Regions from separate parts of the Homo sapiens genome. Here all the other regions are linked to region 2. Evidence: promoter capture Hi-C in 16 types of primary human blood cells and fetal thymus (Javierre and others, 2016). All regions are on one chromosome and are shown on one strand. Each heading gives the region's core, a stretch centred on a gene start or on the middle of the fragment in contact. The rest is flanking DNA. Distances are from core to core; before and after follow the strand shown. Region 1 overlaps CENPC (centromere protein C). Region 2 holds the start of RCHY1 (ring finger and CHY zinc finger domain containing 1). Region 3 holds the start of HNRNPDL (heterogeneous nuclear ribonucleoprotein D like). Region 4 overlaps THAP9 (THAP domain containing 9). Region 5 overlaps MRPS18C (mitochondrial ribosomal protein S18C). Region 6 holds the start of HNRNPD (heterogeneous nuclear ribonucleoprotein D).

Region 1 (2,780 bases), core at 147-2,646, 8.0 Mb before region 2:
TTGAAGAACATCTGGATTTCAATCAGTATAAAATTGACATGCATCTCTAACAGAGTGGACAAACTTTTGCTTAAAGGGCCAGATGGTAAATATTTTAGGCTTGTAAACCATAGTCTCTGTCACAACCAGTCGACTCTCCCATTCTAGCCCAAAAGCAACCACAGACAGTATGTAAACAAAGAGGCATGGCTGTGTTCCAATAAAATTGAAATAAAACCTGTGACAAAACATTTGGCTGGCCTATCAGCCAGAGTTTACTGATCCCTGATCTACAACATTCCTATTATTGAGAGCTGGAAAAGTACTATATATGCAGTAATTAAAAACTGTGAGCCACAGTGCATTATCAGGTCATCCATCATAAAGTTTTATAACTGAAAGATCTCAGAAATCATCCAGTCCAATAATCATCATCCAAATAGATGTGTAAAGTTACTTTTGGAGCTTTGCAGAAATACACTTAATTGGTCACTTCCCACAAACCAATTTAATTAGATTTCCTAGGGTGATGGAGGTAATTCTGATGTGCAAATCTAGTTAAAAACCCCTAGCTGAATCCTATGCCCTCATTTTGCAGATAGGCAAACTGAAACCCAAAATGGTCAAATGGCCTACCTCAGTTTGTAAACCTAAGTAGTATTAGTGGCCGGTTTTCTACCAGAATATATATAGGTGACTATTATAAATTCTGGCCTTGACATCACCCCAAAATACCACCTACAGGTGCACATATTGCACAGCTATAAATACACTCCTGCTATTACCTGTTTCAAGGATGAGATCCAAAAAGATCAGATTTGCCAAGGTGATAATGCAGAGTCACTATTAGAACGCAGGTCACATTAGGCAACAGCTTTTTCAAAATTTATCAAATTCGTCTTTTCTTCCCCTTTGTCATTATTACCTTAGCATAAAAGCACCTCCACCATGTGTAGATTACTACAACACCCTCCTTAAGCTACTTTGTAAACATCAAACATCTTTGCTTTTTTAAATGTGTGTGTGTGTTTATATCAGATAGCCCTTATTCCACAGAAGATTTAGGAGAGCTTATTCAAGCCTATAATAGATGCCTAAAGCCTAACATATCCATTTTATGGCTCAATCCAACTCATATGGTCTTGTTTTCCACTTCTACCCAACATATTCAACCTTCTTAAATCAGGTCTCTCTGCTACTGACAAATATATGTATTCCTACTTTGGTTCCTTCGTTAAGTTACTTTCTATGTCTGGAATATACTTTATCTTAGTCTTTAAATACCTGTTCAAGGTCCACCAAAGTTACACTACAACTTTAAAGCTTTTCTTAATATCAACAACACACAAATCCCTAATTTCTCACATGGCTGTCTATACTGCAAGTTAATGCCTAATTATATATAGGCCTACTCTCTATGATACACAAGTCATTACTTCAGTATTGCAAGTAATAATTTTTGTCCATTAAATTGTTTCACAAATGTACATATACATTTTCCCAACAGAAATCTAAGCTTCTTGTAAACAAAAGAACATACTTCTGTGCCCCATTGGACCTACTAAAATCACAGCTCAATAAACATGACGTTATTCATAATAACATCTTCACTTTTAAAAACATGCTTTTCATCCTATTACTAGTAAATATTTAACTAGAAAATTTACTTTTTACAGGTTTTACAACTAAAAGAAGAACCAAAACAACCCAAACAAGCACTCAACAAATGCACGACAGCATGTACTATTTTTCTTTTTGCCCCACTGAATAAGCTACATCTTTCTAATTTTACCATTTGATTCATTCTACAAAATGCTTTTCCCATGGCAGTCACTTAGTCAGAACTGAGACTCCCTCTTCCTGGTTCCACTATTTTATCAGGTGAATTTCTTTTTTCACAGCCACAAAGTCATTGCACTGCTTGCATTAACATTCCCGTTAGTATAAGATGACTACCCTTAATCAGTGGGCACAGAAATCATTATATTAGTCAGAGGTGATAGTTTTTCCTTTCTTCATTTAAAAATCTATTAACGATGAGAATAAAAATAATCTTAAAAGCTTAAGTACGTAAATCACCTGGAAGGTCGACAAAATCTTCTTCTGTAGCCATTTTTGAGATGATCCTGAAAGAAAAGTAAATCATCAATTTGGTTTCTTTAAGATAGAGTCGAGTAAAATTTATTTTCAAAGTAACTTCATCCAGTATGGGCATGCTATACACCAAACATCTCCTAAGGGCTCAAAACAATTTTGAGGTTATGTTATGACATAACATAGGTTATGACAGGCATTTAAAAACTGAACTGCAGGCATCTGGTAAGCTTTATTCCGCTTCTCTCCCCACAGTGAGAATGGCTTTATTGCTTTCTTCTGATTATATATAATGTAAACAATATATGTGCTCATAGTAAAAAGTATAGATTATATTATTCTTTCATACAACTCTTTATGTTTATATGTATAACGTCACATAATGGGAGATCATCGAAGCTGAAGATTTTCTTAGAAGGGGAGATAAATTAGAAAAGAAATGATACGGATTTTTATATAGTAACCATAACCAAAGTATGAAATATAGAATAGTGAACACCAAAGAAGTCCAGAAATATGTAAACAAAATGAGTTGTCGCCCCCATTAGTCATTCACAGCTTGTACCTTTTAACTGATAGCTGTCTTTCAGAAGAGTTTGTCAATAACATATGCTCCATAAATCAGCCTCAAGAACTGCATAAAAGGCCACCATTTTGACAGAAGAACTGAAAACGTCAAATTATTTCGAGACGTACTTGTTACATAA
Region 2 (2,953 bases), core at 99-2,598:
CATCTCAGTAGAAATTGAATCATAAGGATAGCATTCAATTTCCTTACACAACACTTGGTGGATGACCAACATTTTTAAGGAGCTTCATCCAGTTCAGTGGAGCAATGTTCGTCAAGCCATGACCTATAGAAAAGAGTTTAGGATGCACGTACAGGCCTGAGACTTGAACTTGCTTCTAATAATGAGGCAGTGACCAGCAAGGCTGACTTGTGAAGTGAAAGAACAAAAAATAATAATACTCAGATTGACGATGATAGTAACAGTCATGGTGGTATATATTTACTACTCATTTACTTCAGGGAATGCGCCCTGTTAAACACTATACACGCCCTTTAGTATATAATCCTCATACACTTTTATGAAACAGGCGCGATCATCTCCATTTTACATACGGGGTAGAGAGGAGCTAGCTAAAATCAGTTATTAAAGAGGAGAGCTAAGATTTGGGGATAGGGCGGTTGAGGTTCCAAAGCTCAAGTTTTCTAAGCAAAATTTTTGTACTGTTTCTTGCAAGGAAAATCAGGAAACTTCAATTGAATACGTGCCAATTTAAAAAAAAATACAGATTAAGAAGTTTTCTCAGAGTAACAATACATGCTTATTAGGCACTTTCCTATGCATAATTTCCTATTTAATGGCAATTACATGATTGTCTTCTTTTTTGGGACACACGTTTTCTCCTACGTCTGAACATGTGCACTGCCTTTAACATGAAGCTGGCAGGCTATAAAACTTTACCACAGGAGCTGAAATCGTATTCGGGTTCTCCACTTGCTTATTTCCATTATCTCCACTTCCATTATTTCATCACACACCTGAACGGAAAACCCCAGTACAGGCCCGGGGCTGCCTCAGTCTACTTCGGCAGCAAAAGACGAATAAGCCCACTGGCAGAGACCACTGTGCAAGCCTAATCACTTCCCAAGAAGGGTTTTGCTTTAAAGGTACGAAGCAGGTAGGAAAGGTGGGGCTTATCGCCTTGCCAAAAACGTTCTCCTCAAGAAGAACCCAGTTCCAGGTGGAAAAGGTATCCTGAAAATCAGGTTAACCTCAAACTTAAATCCAAGCCTAACCACCTGCCCAGCCCGCCCCAGCCCAACCTGACGGAAGCTTGTCAGGGAAGAGTCCATAGAAGGCGTCACCTTTAGGAGACATCCTCTGTCATAGTGCTCGCAGCCCCGCTGACCTCGCTCTTGACCGCTGGCGCCATCTTCCCGGGCCGTCGCCGCCATCTCCTCCACCTCCCCTCACATTCCACCGATCCTTCCCCCAGGATAAAAACCACGCCCAGAGAAGCTGCGCCTCTCTAGCACACCCCTCCCAGCCCCAGCGGCCACTAGCGACAATATGGCTCCTAAGCACGTGACCCGGGGCAGACGGATTTCCGGTTCCCGGGGCTACGAGGCGGAAGCGAAGGCAGACGCAGTCTCCGTCGTTGACGTTAGTCGCAGTCTTCGCTGCTAACGGTAATAACTCTTAGGTTGCCTGTTTTCCCCCAATCGCTACCCGCCCAAATCTCAGGGCGTAGTTCGGCGCGAGGTTGGCGGCAGCGGCGCGGAGACGCTGGTTGGCCCCAGAGGAAAGGACGCTCACTGGGCGCATCGTTACCTGTGACGGGTCCTCCCTCTCTCCCTCCGGTGGCGGGGAGCCTGGAGAAAGGGGCGGAGCTCGGCCCGGGCCCTGGGCTCAGCGGGTCCCGCGCGCTGCTCTTGGACGCCAGGGTGCTCGCTGGCACCTCGAAGTGCTTCTTGCTTCCTCCCTTTCCCGTTTACTTGCTGTTCTTTCAAAATATGTACTGACATTCACTATTGCCAGTCACCAGCTAAACCGTGAGGACAAAAAGTAAGGAAAAATAGACACACTCCACCATGACCTCATGGAACTAACAAGACTGGTGGAGGAGGAAGACATTAATAAGAGCAATCACTGCAATAAATGTAAGATTACAACCTGGAGAAGTGCTAGGAAGAAGTGTGTGTCCTGTGAGAGCTAATATTAGAGCAGCTCTGACAATCTGAGTGTCAGTGAGGGAAGGCTTCCCTGGGGAAGCGATGCAAGCCGAGGGCTGAAAGATGGGTAGGAGTTAGTGTGCAAAAGGCTTTGTGGCACAAAGAACATGGTACCTGTTAGAAGGTGGAAGGAAAATGTACAAGCCAACAAAATTGAAATCATACTCGGGGTACACAGCTAAATATGTTTCTCCTTATTAAAGAGTCAAGGCCCTGGAAAATGATGTAAGCAAAGCTGCAGGTGTTAGAAGAAGATATTTGTCTTTAGCTTTCTATCCTGATTTTGTGTTTCCTAAAACACCGGGAAAGGGAAAATATTCCCCTTCAGCTTTCCGGTTACTAACTCTTAACATTCTAATTTTCTTTCAGTTTTGTTATGAGTTGCTAAAATGGTGAAATGCTGCTCCGCCATTGGATGTGCTTCTCGCTGCTTGCCAAATTCGAAGTTAAAAGGACTGACATTTCACGTGTAAGATTTTGCTGTAGTTAAGCCAAATACTTTGGCCATGTTATAAAAAGCAAAAGACAGTTCTACTTAAGTCTTCAATTTTGAACTTTAGTTCCCGAGTCCTTTTTAAATAACCTTTTTGTTAAATTTGAAGTGACAATGTGATACCTTTACATGTTTATAATTTAGTTTAAAAGTTTTAAGATATCAGAGACTTTAAGATATCAGAGACTGGTTTACAAAAAATACCATAAGGCTAACTTTTGCTAATATTATTACTTTGTATTTTATCACACCGCCAAAGAAATTCAATGTTGTTTACATGTAGTTTACAATCTGAATGAAGGAGCTTTGCTCGAATATATTGCCCTCTCTATTTAGAAGTAGATCAAGCATAGGTTATAGAGAAAAAATACAAATTACAAGTTAAGACCAAGGGATCTTTAGCTGTGTTGCAAATAAATCAAAATGATTTTAGTTTCATATTTTAGCCATT
Region 3 (2,771 bases), core at 32-2,531, 6.9 Mb after region 2:
GGCGCGCGGGCCAAGGGGGCGCGGCGGGGCCTCCCGGGCTGATCGGCCGAAGCCCGGGCCCCGCGCGGCCTCTGGCGGGCTGACGCCGGGAGGAGGGGCGGGGGCTGGCCAGATGACTGTATCTATGCAAAGGCGGAGGCGGTGGGCGGGGAGGGGGCTGGATTCAGTAGAGGGCAAGGGGCACTCACATCCCCGGCGCGCCACTCGCGGGGCTCCTTTCTGCACGTGCCCCGGGCCTCTCCCGCTCGCTCAACCTGTCTGCGGAGGGCGCGCTCTCGCGCACCCTGCTCCCGCGTTCGCTTCTTTGTTCCCGCCCACGCGAGGCCCATTTTGACGGATCCAGTTCGAGGCCTGACGGCGGCCAATCGGCGCTGGCGCCTTCACCCTCCCCGCCCCGCCGAACCCGTCAAGGGCCGCCCCTTTTCCTGCCCACGTGGTCTCGGGCTCCTGCCCCGTCCTGCTCACGAGTTCAGGGCTCCTGGGCGGCCGCCTTTTCCAGTTCCAGGTGTGCAGAAGTGTCCTCTCCCCACGCGCGGCGGGCTGCACTTGGTCGCTGGCTCCGAGATCGCGCGGGGCCGCCGGAAGCCCAAGACGGTACCGGGGGCCGCAGCCGCAGCCGGCGCCGCCCTCCGCCCTCCCCAACAGCAGGCCGAGTCCCGTAGCATCCGGTAGGGAAATGGTCGTGCTTTCGGTCCCCGCCGAAGTCACCGTGATCCTGTTAGATATCGAAGGTACCACAACCCCGATTGCTTTCGTGAAGGTGAGGGGCGGAAGGGAGCGGGGATGTTACTTTTCCTTAAAAACAGTTATTATTTTTTCTAAGTATTTCAGGCCTTGCATTGGAGACGAGGGTTAGGAGAGGCGGTGTGGCTGCCTCTTGTGTGGAATGGGGAGGAAGGAGAGAAAGCCTGCGGTGGGTTGCGGGGATGCTTTTCCTCGCGACACTAGCTTCTCCCTCCCCCGCCCTTGCGCTTGGTTGGATCCAGATGGGTGGGAAGGGATGGAAGTTGACGCTAAAAATCACCGAAGGGCAGGTAAGCCGGGGCGGGGTGTGACGGTGCGGGCCTCGCCACCCGGCAGGTGTGCACCCGGTCGCTTCCGCAGGTGAGCGCAGCCTTTCTGCTCCGTCGGGCCTGGTGTGGCAGCGGCAGCGATTTAATGGTCCTTAAAGCTTCCGATCTCAAAATGGAAAGACTGAAGTGTCAAGATGACTTTTCAGGTGGCCCTGGTGTCGGGCAATCAAGGTTCCTCTTCGCCCCTTCCCACTCTTGCTGTTAGTGGCCAAACTGCACAGTGTATTATTTTACTCTGTTAGGCGCTGTGGTCCATAGCGCTGATTTTTTGAGCTATAGGACACGTCTAGATTCCGTTCACTTTCCTCAGAAAACCACAGAAGCTTGAAGCTCTTATCCAGAGCATTCCTTCTAGGATGTCACTGTGAACCAGCACTTGTCTGCACCTCAGCTTGCAACTTAGCGGATTCCTTCTTTATTCTTTGTCTGTTAGAATAAGCAAATATGAAATGTTACTTTAATTTTTGAAAGAATTCCTCGGGCCTTGTCTTTTTATTTGGCTCCCTGAGGTTTAAGAATTCATTGCAGATACAAGTACTTCTTAGAGGTGCTTGCATGCACAATAATAGTCGAGATATACAAAGTATATTACCAAGTAGGAAAAATCCATCTTCCAAGAAACTGAGCAGCTTGGGTTTTAAATTCTATTTTAGTTTCCATTTTTAAAAAAAATTATCTGTGAATAAGGCTTTTTTTTTTTTTTCTTTGAGAGTCTCACTCTGTTCCCAGGCTGGAGTGGAGTGGAGTGGTGCAATCACAGCTCACTGCAGCCTCTACCTCCTTGGGCTTAAGGCATCCTCCTGCCCCAGCCTCTCGAGTAGTTGGGACTGAAGGGAGAGCCACCATGCCTGGCTAATTTTTGTATTTTTTGTAGAGACGGGGTTTCGCCATATTGCCCAGGCTAGTCTGGAATTCTTGGCCTCCCAAAGTGCTGAGATTACAGGCATGAGCCAAGGCGCCTGGCCTGAATGAGTTTCTTGATGTAGGTTATAATATAAAATCCATGTACACTTTTAGGACACCAAACATAACAACCTTTAAAATTCTTTTAGAAGAATCACAGTACCTTGACATCTTAGCATAGGTTCAGAAGAAATCGAGTTTAGCATTTTCTCCACGGTTTTTGTTTTTGTTTTGAGGCGGAGTCTCGCTCTGTTGCCCAGGCTGGAGTGCAGTGGTGTGAGCTCAGCTCACTGCAACCTCTGCCTCCCAGCTTCAAGCGATTCTTCTGTCGCAGCCTCTCCAGTAGCTGGGATTACAGACATGTGCCACCACACCCAGCTAATTTTTATATTTTTAGTAGAAGAGGGTTTCACCAGGCTGGTCTCAAACTCCTGACCTCAAGTGATTCACCCACCTCAGCCTCCCAAAGTGCTGGAATTACAGGCGTGAACCATGGCACCCGGCCTCTTCCCCACGTTTTGTTTTGTTTTGTTTTGTTTTGTTTGAGACAGAGTCTTGTTCTGTCTCCCAGGCTGGAATACAGTGGTGCAACCTCTGCTTCCGGGGTTCAAGCGATTCTGGTGCCTCAGCCTTCCGAGTAGCTGAGATTACAGACGCGCACCACCACGCCCGGCTAATTTTTGTATTTTTAGTTGACCAGGCTGGTCTGACCTCAGGTAATCCTCCCGTGTCGGCCTCCCAAAGTGCTGGGATTATAGGCGCGAGCCACCGCGCCTGACCTTCCCCCACGTTTTT
Region 4 (2,939 bases), core at 1-2,500, 7.4 Mb after region 2:
TATCTCCCAGGCTCAAGTGATCCTCCCACCTCAGCCTCATGGGACTACAGGCACAGACCACCATCCCGGCTTTTTTTTTTTTTTGGTAGAGATGAGGTCTCAGTGTGTTGCCCAGGTTGGTCTCCAACTTCTTGGCTGGGATTACAGGCATGAGCCACCCTGCCCAGCCCCAGCCTTTTTCATAGCATTTTACGCATAGGAAATAATTGTTCAATACTTTGGGGCAAACCTACAGCACTGTTTGGGGCTGCCTTCAAGTAACTACTCAGGTGTCCCAGCCCACCCCATGGACTAAGAATATCAACAGCTGTACTCACTAGGCATACCTGTTGGGAAGCTTTGCATCAGAGGACCACGCTAGTAATAGAAGTTGTTGGACCAGCCAACTTTTGAGGGTTCCTTGCACGTTTAGAGACTATACCCAATCTGTGGAAAAGCTCCCTTGCAAAATATGTTCCATGAGTTAGAAAAGAACTCAGTGAAAAAAGATAGATTTGCCCCAACTTTATTGGAAAAAGAATTCCCTGTTCATTTGCCCTTGATCAAGTATCATCATCTTCTTAGAACAATAAAATTATAATCCCAGAAATGGAATTAGTTGTTCTTAGGAAAGATCGAACTTTGGATAGTACTTTACAGTTTACAAAGTGATTTTGAATACATTTGTAGCCTCATACACTCTTACTACAGCCCTGTGAGGAAGTTCTAAGATTGAGAGATGTGTCTAATACCATATAGCTGGTAGAAGGTCACTGAAGCTTAAATACAGGTTTTCCAATTCAGAGTTCTTTCTCAAGGTGATTTAGAGAGCATATCAGAATTATGTTTTACCATGCTGCTATATTTTTGTAGCATTTAGCTGAGAAATAAAATTTATACCAATCTCAGTTCTAGTAACTATGTGTTTTAAAGTCTAAATTAAAATACACAAAAAGCATAGTTACCTATAAGTCTGTCTCTAAGATAACGTCAAAGAAGAAGGGGCAGAAAGAGTAGTTTTGTGCTTTTTATTGTGTTAATTTCACAAGTTTCTTTTTCTTTTCTTTTTTGAGATGAAATCTTGCTGTCGCCCAGGCTGGAGTGCAGTGGCACTATCTTGGCTCACTGCAACTTTGCCTCCCAGGTTCAAGCGATTCTCCTGCCTCAGCCTCCCTAGTAGCTGGGATTACAGGTGGGAGCCACCAGGCCCGGCTAATTTTTGTATTTTTATTAGAGACAGGGTTTCACCATGTTGTCCAGGCTGGTCTTGAACTCCTGACCTCAAGTGATCCGCCCGCCTCGGCCTCCCAAAGTGTTGGGATTACAGGCGTGAGCCACCACGCCTGGCCGACAAGTTTCTAAACATAATTTGGCTTGGATTGAAAAATAAATAAATGCAAGGTAATTTTTATAATCAAGGCTAGGAAAAAGTAGTGCCTTTAAACATGAAAAAACAATATAGTAAATATACTTGTCTTGTTTTCTACTGCTGCATAACAAGTTACCTCAAAATTCAGTATAAACATTTTTATCTCACACATTTCTGAGGGTCAGGAATTCAGGAGTGTAGCTCGATGTTACAGTATCTCATAAGATTGCACTCATCTGAAGGCTGAAGTCACCTGCTTTCAAAAAGACTAACTCAACATGGCCTTTGACTGGAGGCCTCAGTTCCTCACCAACTAGTTTTCTCCACAGGACTGCTTTATAACATGCCAGATACCTTACCACAGAGCAAACCATTCTCTACAGAGAGCAAGGAGGAAAGCTTGTTCCTTTATGACGTAGTCTGTGGTCACTTACTGTCACATGTTCTTTTTCCATTCCTTAGCAAATCACTAACTCTAGCCCATACTCACTCAAGGGGAGGGGAATTAGGCTCCCCCTTTTTTTTTTTTTTTTTTTTTTTGTTACGGAGTTTCACTCTTGTTGCCCAGGCTGGAGTGTAATGGTGCGATCTCGGCTCACTGCAGCCTCCACCTCCGGATTCAAGAGATTCTCCTGCCTCAGCCTCCCCAGTAGCTGGGATTACAGGCACCCGCCACCACGTCCGGCTAATTTTTTATATGTTTAGTAGAGACGGGGTTTCACCATGTTGTCCAGGCTGGTCTTGAACTCCTGACTGCTGATCCTCCCGCCTCAGCCTCCCAAAGTGCTGGGATTACAGGCATGAGCCACTGCACCCAGCCAGGCTTCACTTCTTAAAAGGAAGAGTACCAAATAGTTTAAAATCACTACAGGAAAGGAAAAGATGCATATATTCTTTAACCATTTAAATTTGAGCAAATTCTATTAAGTGTAGGAAGTGAAGACAAAATATAGTAGGATTTTTAATATGGGAATTGCCCCTCTATGATTGACAAAGAAAAATCAGATATTGAACCTTTGGATTAAAAAAAATCAAAGAACTTTGAAAAATGAACTAAGTAAATTAAACTTTTAATTCACTTGGCTTTATGTTTCTATAAAGCAGTAAAATAATAGATGGGTTTATATAATAAATACTACTGTAATAGTACTATAATGTTTTCATGTTAATGGAACTTTAATGTGATTGTCATAGATTTCCAACTGATACCATACAGCGCTCAAAATGGATCAGGGCTGTTAATCGTGTGGACCCCAGAAGCAAAAAGATTTGGATTCCAGGACCAGGTGCTATACTGTGTTCCAAACATTTTCAAGAAAGTGACTTTGAGTCATATGGCATAAGAAGAAAGCTGAAAAAAGGAGCTGTGCCTTCTGTTTCTCTATACAAGGTATTTAAATGTAGGTGTAAGTCAACAAAATGAAAATTTACAGAGCCTTTAAAAATCAAGATAGCCCCCATTATAGCTAGAATTTGCAGACAAAAAAACCCAAGTCTTAAATCCAGTAATAGATTTTAAATGCTTTGAAAATTTAAAAAAAAAATTATATATATTAGCATTTGTTCTGGAGCTTTTAAAAAACTATATAAA
Region 5 (2,869 bases), core at 53-2,552, 7.9 Mb after region 2:
GTCAGAAAGAGCAGGTATGGGCGGGAAAATATGTTCTTTTCCCCCTAAGCCCTGGAAAGCACACCCATGTTGAGTCTTACTCTGTCCCAAATATAAAAGTTTTTAACCATTCTGAATATAATACAAAACCTTTCTTTAATATCGTGTCCCTTAATTCATCCTGTCTCCATAAAAACAAAAATCTTTAGCTATTCAGCTAAGAAAAAGAAATGGTTAATTGCTGTTTCTGTTTAATCGCAGTGCTTTGGAGAAGAGGTTGTTCACAACAGGTATCCAGCAATGAGGACCTGGTAAGAATTTTTTTTTCTATTAGTAAGGCCTTTGCAAATATGACCAAAATGTTTTTCTTTTTAAAACGAGATCTGGTATTAGACTCTAACATCTTTTATTTTAGCTACTTGAATAGAGTTCTGCCGTAGGACAAAACAATTTGATAATTACTCTGAGTTCAGAAATGATGATGAATTGATTGTAGTCATGTAGTCAGCTGAGTTTTGAAGTAGGGGAATTCCTAGATTAGAAGCAAAGCTGCTATAATACCATATTTTTCTTCCTAGATCTTAAATTTAAGGATATGTGATTTGGGAATTGTTTTTTTTTTTTTTACATAGCCCTTTGTAAGCAAATGATATGGGAATTTTAAAAGGTAGTTTGGGTGAGCAGAATTTTAGATAACTGAAAAGAGACTGTACAAAGCTTAGCTATAGGTTGGCTATAGTATTAACATGGACTTTCTGAAAGCACAGGTTCTTGCTACATGCAAAGGTATTTTGACACTAATTAGACCATACAAAGCACTTGGCACAGAGCTGAAGAGTAGTTACGTGAGCTGAATGTAAATTGGAAAGTTTGAGGAATTGGAAAAAACAAAAGAACTTGTCTAGTTTCTCTGAGCATCTGTCTTGGTAATCTAATCCATGCACCATACTTTAAGAAAGTAAAGGGACATTATTTCTTTTTTAGTTCATAAATCCCACTTTGTCTCTAATCAAAGTTATGGACCCTCTCCACAGAAAAAGGCACACAGTCCCATTCATTTGAAGTTTTGCATACGATTACAGGGAGTCATGGGCTTCAAAGCCATTTCTAGATTAAGAACCTCTATCCTGGAGACAGCCATACTGACTGTAGGAAGGAGGCACTGTGACAAAAGCATTAGAGGCAGTGGTGGTAACAGAAAAGCCAAAAAGACTGATACAAACTTATATAGTAGCCTGGGGTGATAAAGTCAAAGAACCTTTTATTACAGTAAGTCATGGGCCATTATCTGTGTATAAAAATAGTGATAAAATACTTGATAGAGACATGGGGATGGATAAATTAGGGATTGTACTCATTTAAGAATGGCATATGTTATCTATTGTGTTGTAAGTTTCCTTAAATCTAAAAATTTTTTCATTATCTACAATCTGAGCAAAGCATTGGAACACTTTCTTATCAGACATCATTTTTGTTCTGCCATAAAATTTTATTCTATGAAGATTGTACTTTATTCCAGAATCTTCCCATGCGTTAATCCGTAGGCTAAACTAAAACAAAATAAAGTGCTTATACAAAATATGTACACAGTAAGAAAGGTATAACTAATCCTTTGAATGGATTTGAATGTAGAATAGTAACCTTTTAAAATTCAGAATTAACACATCCTATTATCAGACTTTTCGTTTTTTTCCCTAGCCCATTTCAATGGAAAATCCTTATAAAGAACCTCTTAAGAAATGTATCTTGTGTGGAAAGCATGTAGATTATAAGAATGTACAGGTGAGATCTGGTTTTACTTCACTATATTTTAGGGTTTTGCTTCTGATAGATCTGCTTAAAGAGAATCAAGTCAGTTTATAGCAGGCTTTTGTAGAGGTAACTGTTTTAGCAACTTCATAATTTCAAATTTGGTTATAATTCTATGTATAAGCTTATCTCTGCTTTATTCAAGTAAAAGCACCTTGGCTTTCCCCCACTTACTGTTATTTCCACTCTGTTTTTTTCACTACCCCAAACATCTTAATAGCTCCCTGTGGCAGTAATTCTCAATTGGTGAGGGTCAGAACTTTGGAAAAAGCTCATCTGGTGAAGCTGATCTCTTTATCTCACCACCCATATCACTGATTCACATATTACTTATCTCTTGTCTAACTCTCAGCAAGTTAGAAGTTGCAAATTTGGGGCAAGTGAATAGCGCTAGAATTCTGTATGTTGGCTGGGTGTGGTGGCTCACGCCTGTAATCCCAGCACTTTGGGAGGCCAAGGCGGGCGGATCACCTGAGGTCAGGAGTTTGAGACCAGCCTGGCCAATGTGGTGAAACCCCGTCTCTATTAAAAATACAAAAATTAGCTGAGTGTGGTGGTGCATGCCTGTAATCCCAGCTACTTGGGAGGCTGAGGCAGGAGATTTGCTTGAACCCAGGAGGCGGAAGTTGCAGTGAGCTGAGATCGTGCCATTGCACTCCAGCCTGGGTGACAAGAGTAAAACTCTGTCAAAAAAAAAAAAAAAAAAAAAAAAGAATTCCATATATTGACAATAGTATAAAGTGATAGCTGCCTTTGAGGAAGAACCAAGAATTACAAAAACACACATACTAGGAAGATTATGCAAAGTGCCAAGAATAATGACTAGCACCTAGAAAGGTTCTAAAGAAGTATTTAAATAAAACATAAATTATAGCAAATGCCTGGTGTACTTGTACCTCTTGAAAATCTCATTACCCCCTGATAATTTATCTTAATGATTATCAGAGGGTAATGTGATAGCTTGTCAGGATAGATGAAATTTTTTAGTAGCTTGTTTCAAGCAATATTTTAGAAAGGTATCTGTGGAAGTCAAGAAAACAGATTTACCATTGAATGAATATGCTGATTAATCTGCTGTTTA
Region 6 (2,880 bases), core at 160-2,659, 6.9 Mb after region 2:
ACTAACAGTTGGGGAACCCAATAGCTGAGGGCGCGAAAAGGGTGCGCGGTTAGAATAACTCAGTGGGGTGGGGGAAGGGTAGATGCTAGGCCGGAGATAGGAACAGCTCCAGTCAAGTGCAGGCCCGATCGACTAAGAACTTAACCAGAGCCCGCGGAGCAAAACCAATGTACCAACAAGAAACTCGGAGCATTTCACCAGACCCAATTTGGTCTGCATGTCAAAATGTAGGGCCTGTATGAGTATGCCATTGTGCGATAGCGTATGGTGGAGAAAATGAGTAAATCCTTAGGCGAAACTTATTCAAAATCCCAAGAAAACAGTCGGCCTAAGGCCGACAAGGGAGAGGCAGAGGTGGACAGCCTACGCGTTCCCCAAAACATGTGCTTATAAACAATCGCATCGTTTCAGGATGGTGGAGAAGCACCAAATAAACCTTAGTAATACAAACAGAGAAGCTGTTTGTGTCTGTGTTTTTATGCCCAAGACTGTAGAAAAAGGGAAAAAGAGGGGACAGCATGGAAAGAAAAAAGGTACCCCACGACAGGCGGGAAAAAATCCTGGCGGCTAAGTCGGTGGGAGGAGACCCATGGCGAGGGAGGAAAGGAGGGCGGGCCGAGGAGCAGCATGGTGACGGCTAAAGGTGGAAACGTGTGTGATGGGGGAGGGGGGCGATAAGCAGGCAAAGGAAGAAGGAAATGAAGGTCCGGGGAACCCAACATAGAAAAAGGGAGACCAGTGCAAGGAGGCTGCATGGGGGCCCGGAGAACGGGCTGAGAGCGGGAACCAGGCCTAATGGCGGGGGAATAAAGAGGGGGAGGGGGACTAGTTGGGCCTGACTATCCTGGGATGCCCCTTACTCACCCTTCATCCTCCTCGTTCTTACTGGCGTCAATCTTCGCCCCCTCCGACTCGGCGCTGCCCCCTTCGGTGCCTCCAGACGCGGTTCCGCCCCCGGTCCCGGCTCCGCTTCCCGCCGCCGCCGCTGCCCCCTGTGTCGCCGCCACCATGGCTCCCTCCTGCTCGCCCGCCGAGCCGCCTACCGCCGCCGTTGCCGCTGCCGCCGCCCCGTCCCCGCCGAACTGCTCCTCCGACATAGTGCTAGTGTCTCCGCCGCTGCCGCCGAGACTACACCCGCCGCTGCCGCGAACCGAAACTAGCAGCAAAGTAATCCCCGCCGCTGCCGCGCGCCCGCTCTACCTCGCGAAGCACACAAGACAGGGAAGGCGCGCGCGTGGCTGCAAAGGCTCCTGCGCCTCTCCCTGGCCTGCCCCCTTCGCCTCCCACTCTCGCGCGGCGCACACTCCCGCTCTCTCCCGCTGCACTAAAAAAGAATAAGCACCAGCGGCGGCCGCTCTCGCCTCCTCCTCGCTTTAATGGCGCCGCCGCGGACCACCTAAAATGGCCGACGGAAGAACGGCGCGTCCCGGTCACGTGACGCGAGAGCGCGCCCTTCGCGCGTCCCCCCACCCCTATCCCCCTAGTTTTTTTTTTTTCCCTTTCCTCCTCGGTCCCGCCCTCTCGCTACCCTTTATACCTTCCTCTCACGCTCCGCGTTGCACAGCCTTGGGGGCCTTTAAAAGGAACCGGAAGTGTCGTGAGCTAAGACAGTCGCGCGGGGACCATCGAGAACAAGGAGTGCTGTTTCGAAGTAGCGGCTAGAGGGGCCCCCTGCCTCCGCCCCCGCCCTTCCGAGGATTCCTGGAGTCCACTCACCCCTCCCCACCACTCCAGTAGCGGCGGGAGCAGCAGCGTTAGGCCGGGGTGTGGCTGCACCTCTGCGAAGGCTGTCGTGCCCCGTGCAGCTGCGGCGTTCGGGTGGGGGAGGGGAGGCTCACACCCTGCGGCGGCTTAAGCCTGGATTTACGCACTGGAGGAGGGAATTAGCCCTGAGATGTCAGCCCTGTGCCCCTGGCGCTGTCCACCCGGACGCCCGCGGAGCGCCAGGCGCCGCAGCGGACCGCGCGCGCACTGATTGCCGCAGCTACTCTCCCTGCCGTCGCCGCCCGGGACCGGGTGACATTGAGGTTTTCGTCTATCGCCGCTGGGCCGATAGGGCTTCTTTTTAAGATTTGGCTTTCCAAGTAAGATTTTTGTTTGCCTGCTTTTCTCCTGGAATTTTTTTGTTTTTGGTCGAAGAAGCAGGTAACTTGCATATCTTAAGGAAAACATTGTTTTTGCTTTGCTTTTGTTGTTTAAAGATCCTAAAACGTACCGTGATTCCTTTACGTTACTAATAATTGGAAAGTGTGTTAAATCAAGGGTTCGCTTAATGTTCTTTAGCCTTTGTACATAGAATATATAAATGTCGTGAGTCATCTTTACGAGGTTTATGAGTTTGTGTTCGGGTTTGGCTTTTTTGTTGTGTGTGCGTGGTTTTTTTTTTTCTTTTCTTGTAACACCGTTAGGCGTTTCATTAAGGTGTATAAAAAGTAATTTTATACACCTATTAAAAATTCCCGCTGCCTCGGCTGGAGACTGGATTATTCGGGCTTTGGGATTTGCTGCTTCCAGCAGTATCCTTAGAAGAAAATGAAGCTTCTAGGTACTTCTGTAGTCAACAAATAATTATTTGCCTGTTTAATTAAAGTGTTCGGGCACGGGGGAAACAAAGACGAGTTTGCAGACTCCAGCAAAAATCTTAAGAGTTTAAGTATTTGGGCCGGGCGCGGTGGCTCACGCCTGTAATCCCAGCACTTTGGGAGGCCGAGGCGGGCGGATCACGAGGTCAGGAGTTCGAGACAAGCCTGACCAACATGGTGAAACCCCCGTGTCTACTAAAAATACAAAAATTAGCCGGGCGTGGTGGCCGGTACCTGTAATCTCAGGTACTCAGGAGGCTGAGGCAGGAGAATCGCTTGAACCCGGGAGGTGGAGATT

What was found. The method cuts DNA at HindIII sites, captures the fragments that hold promoters and counts their contacts. A CHiCAGO score of 5 or more calls a contact.
Region 1: a contact is called between a fragment that was not itself captured here and the fragment with the promoter of RCHY1 in region 2, in 1 of 17 cell types (total CD4 T cells). The highest score is 5.0, in total CD4 T cells.
Region 3: a contact is called between a fragment that was not itself captured here and the fragment with the promoter of RCHY1 in region 2, in 2 of 17 cell types (naive CD4 T cells and total CD8 T cells). The highest score is 5.4, in naive CD4 T cells.
Region 4: a contact is called between a fragment that was not itself captured here and the fragment with the promoter of RCHY1 in region 2, in 1 of 17 cell types (non-activated CD4 T cells). The highest score is 5.2, in non-activated CD4 T cells.
Region 5: a fragment that was not itself captured here is called in contact with the fragment with the promoter of RCHY1 in region 2 in 1 of 17 cell types (non-activated CD4 T cells); the score reaches 5.4 in non-activated CD4 T cells.
Region 6: a contact is called between the fragment with the promoter of HNRNPD here and the fragment with the promoter of RCHY1 in region 2, in 1 of 17 cell types (total CD4 T cells). The highest score is 6.2, in total CD4 T cells.

Annotation. Positions count from the first base shown.
Region 1 is chr4:67,542,091-67,544,870 of GRCh38, forward strand. CENPC (centromere protein C) reads right to left here. Exons shown (of 19, transcript NM_001812.4): 2 at 2,059-2,105. Among named protein-coding and RNA genes, the nearest start is that of CENPC, 2.0 kb to the right of the region's middle. The HindIII fragment of the contact is 193 bases long and covers 1,301-1,493 here.
Region 2 is chr4:75,513,055-75,516,007 of GRCh38, forward strand. It overlaps RCHY1 (ring finger and CHY zinc finger domain containing 1), which reads right to left and starts at 1,349. Exons shown (of 9, transcript NM_015436.4): 1 at 1,143-1,349. The coding sequence starts at 1,232. THAP6 (THAP domain containing 6) reads left to right here and starts at 1,419. Exons shown (of 5, transcript NM_144721.6): 1 at 1,419-1,466; 2 at 2,379-2,478. The coding sequence starts at 2,399. RefSeq lists enhancers at 458-1,388, 1,075-1,554, 1,389-2,319, 1,895-2,114. The HindIII fragment of the contact is 8,040 bases long and covers 1,109-2,953 here.
Region 3 is chr4:82,430,154-82,432,924 of GRCh38, forward strand. HNRNPDL (heterogeneous nuclear ribonucleoprotein D like) reads right to left here and starts at 309. Exons shown (of 8, transcript NM_031372.4): 1 at 1-309. It overlaps ENOPH1 (enolase-phosphatase 1), which reads left to right and starts at 437. Exons shown (of 6, transcript NM_021204.5): 1 at 437-760. The coding sequence starts at 677. RefSeq lists enhancers at 1-564, 928-1,027 and silencers at 1-247, 368-687. The HindIII fragment of the contact is 225 bases long and covers 1,170-1,394 here.
Region 4 is chr4:82,902,194-82,905,132 of GRCh38, forward strand. THAP9 (THAP domain containing 9) reads left to right here. Exons shown (of 5, transcript NM_024672.6): 2 at 2,543-2,738. Among named protein-coding and RNA genes, the nearest start is that of THAP9-AS1, 2.7 kb to the left of the region's middle. The HindIII fragment of the contact is 989 bases long and covers 757-1,745 here.
Region 5 is chr4:83,456,669-83,459,537 of GRCh38, forward strand. MRPS18C (mitochondrial ribosomal protein S18C) reads left to right here. Exons shown (of 6, transcript NM_016067.4): 2 at 241-290; 3 at 1,678-1,761. It overlaps ABRAXAS1 (abraxas 1, BRCA1 A complex subunit), which reads right to left. Exons shown (of 9, transcript NM_139076.3): 9 at 2,849-2,869. Among named protein-coding and RNA genes, the nearest start is that of MRPS18C, 2.0 kb to the left of the region's middle. The HindIII fragment of the contact is 1,216 bases long and covers 695-1,910 here.
Region 6 is chr4:82,372,582-82,375,461 of GRCh38, forward strand. It overlaps HNRNPD (heterogeneous nuclear ribonucleoprotein D), which reads right to left and starts at 1,410. Exons shown (of 9, transcript NM_031370.3): 1 at 865-1,410. The coding sequence starts at 1,097. HNRNPD-DT (HNRNPD divergent transcript) reads left to right here and starts at 1,987. Exons shown (of 2, transcript NR_183813.1): 1 at 1,987-2,084. RefSeq lists enhancers at 1-8, 1,369-1,538 and a silencer at 909-1,008. The HindIII fragment of the contact is 7,055 bases long and covers 1-2,536 here.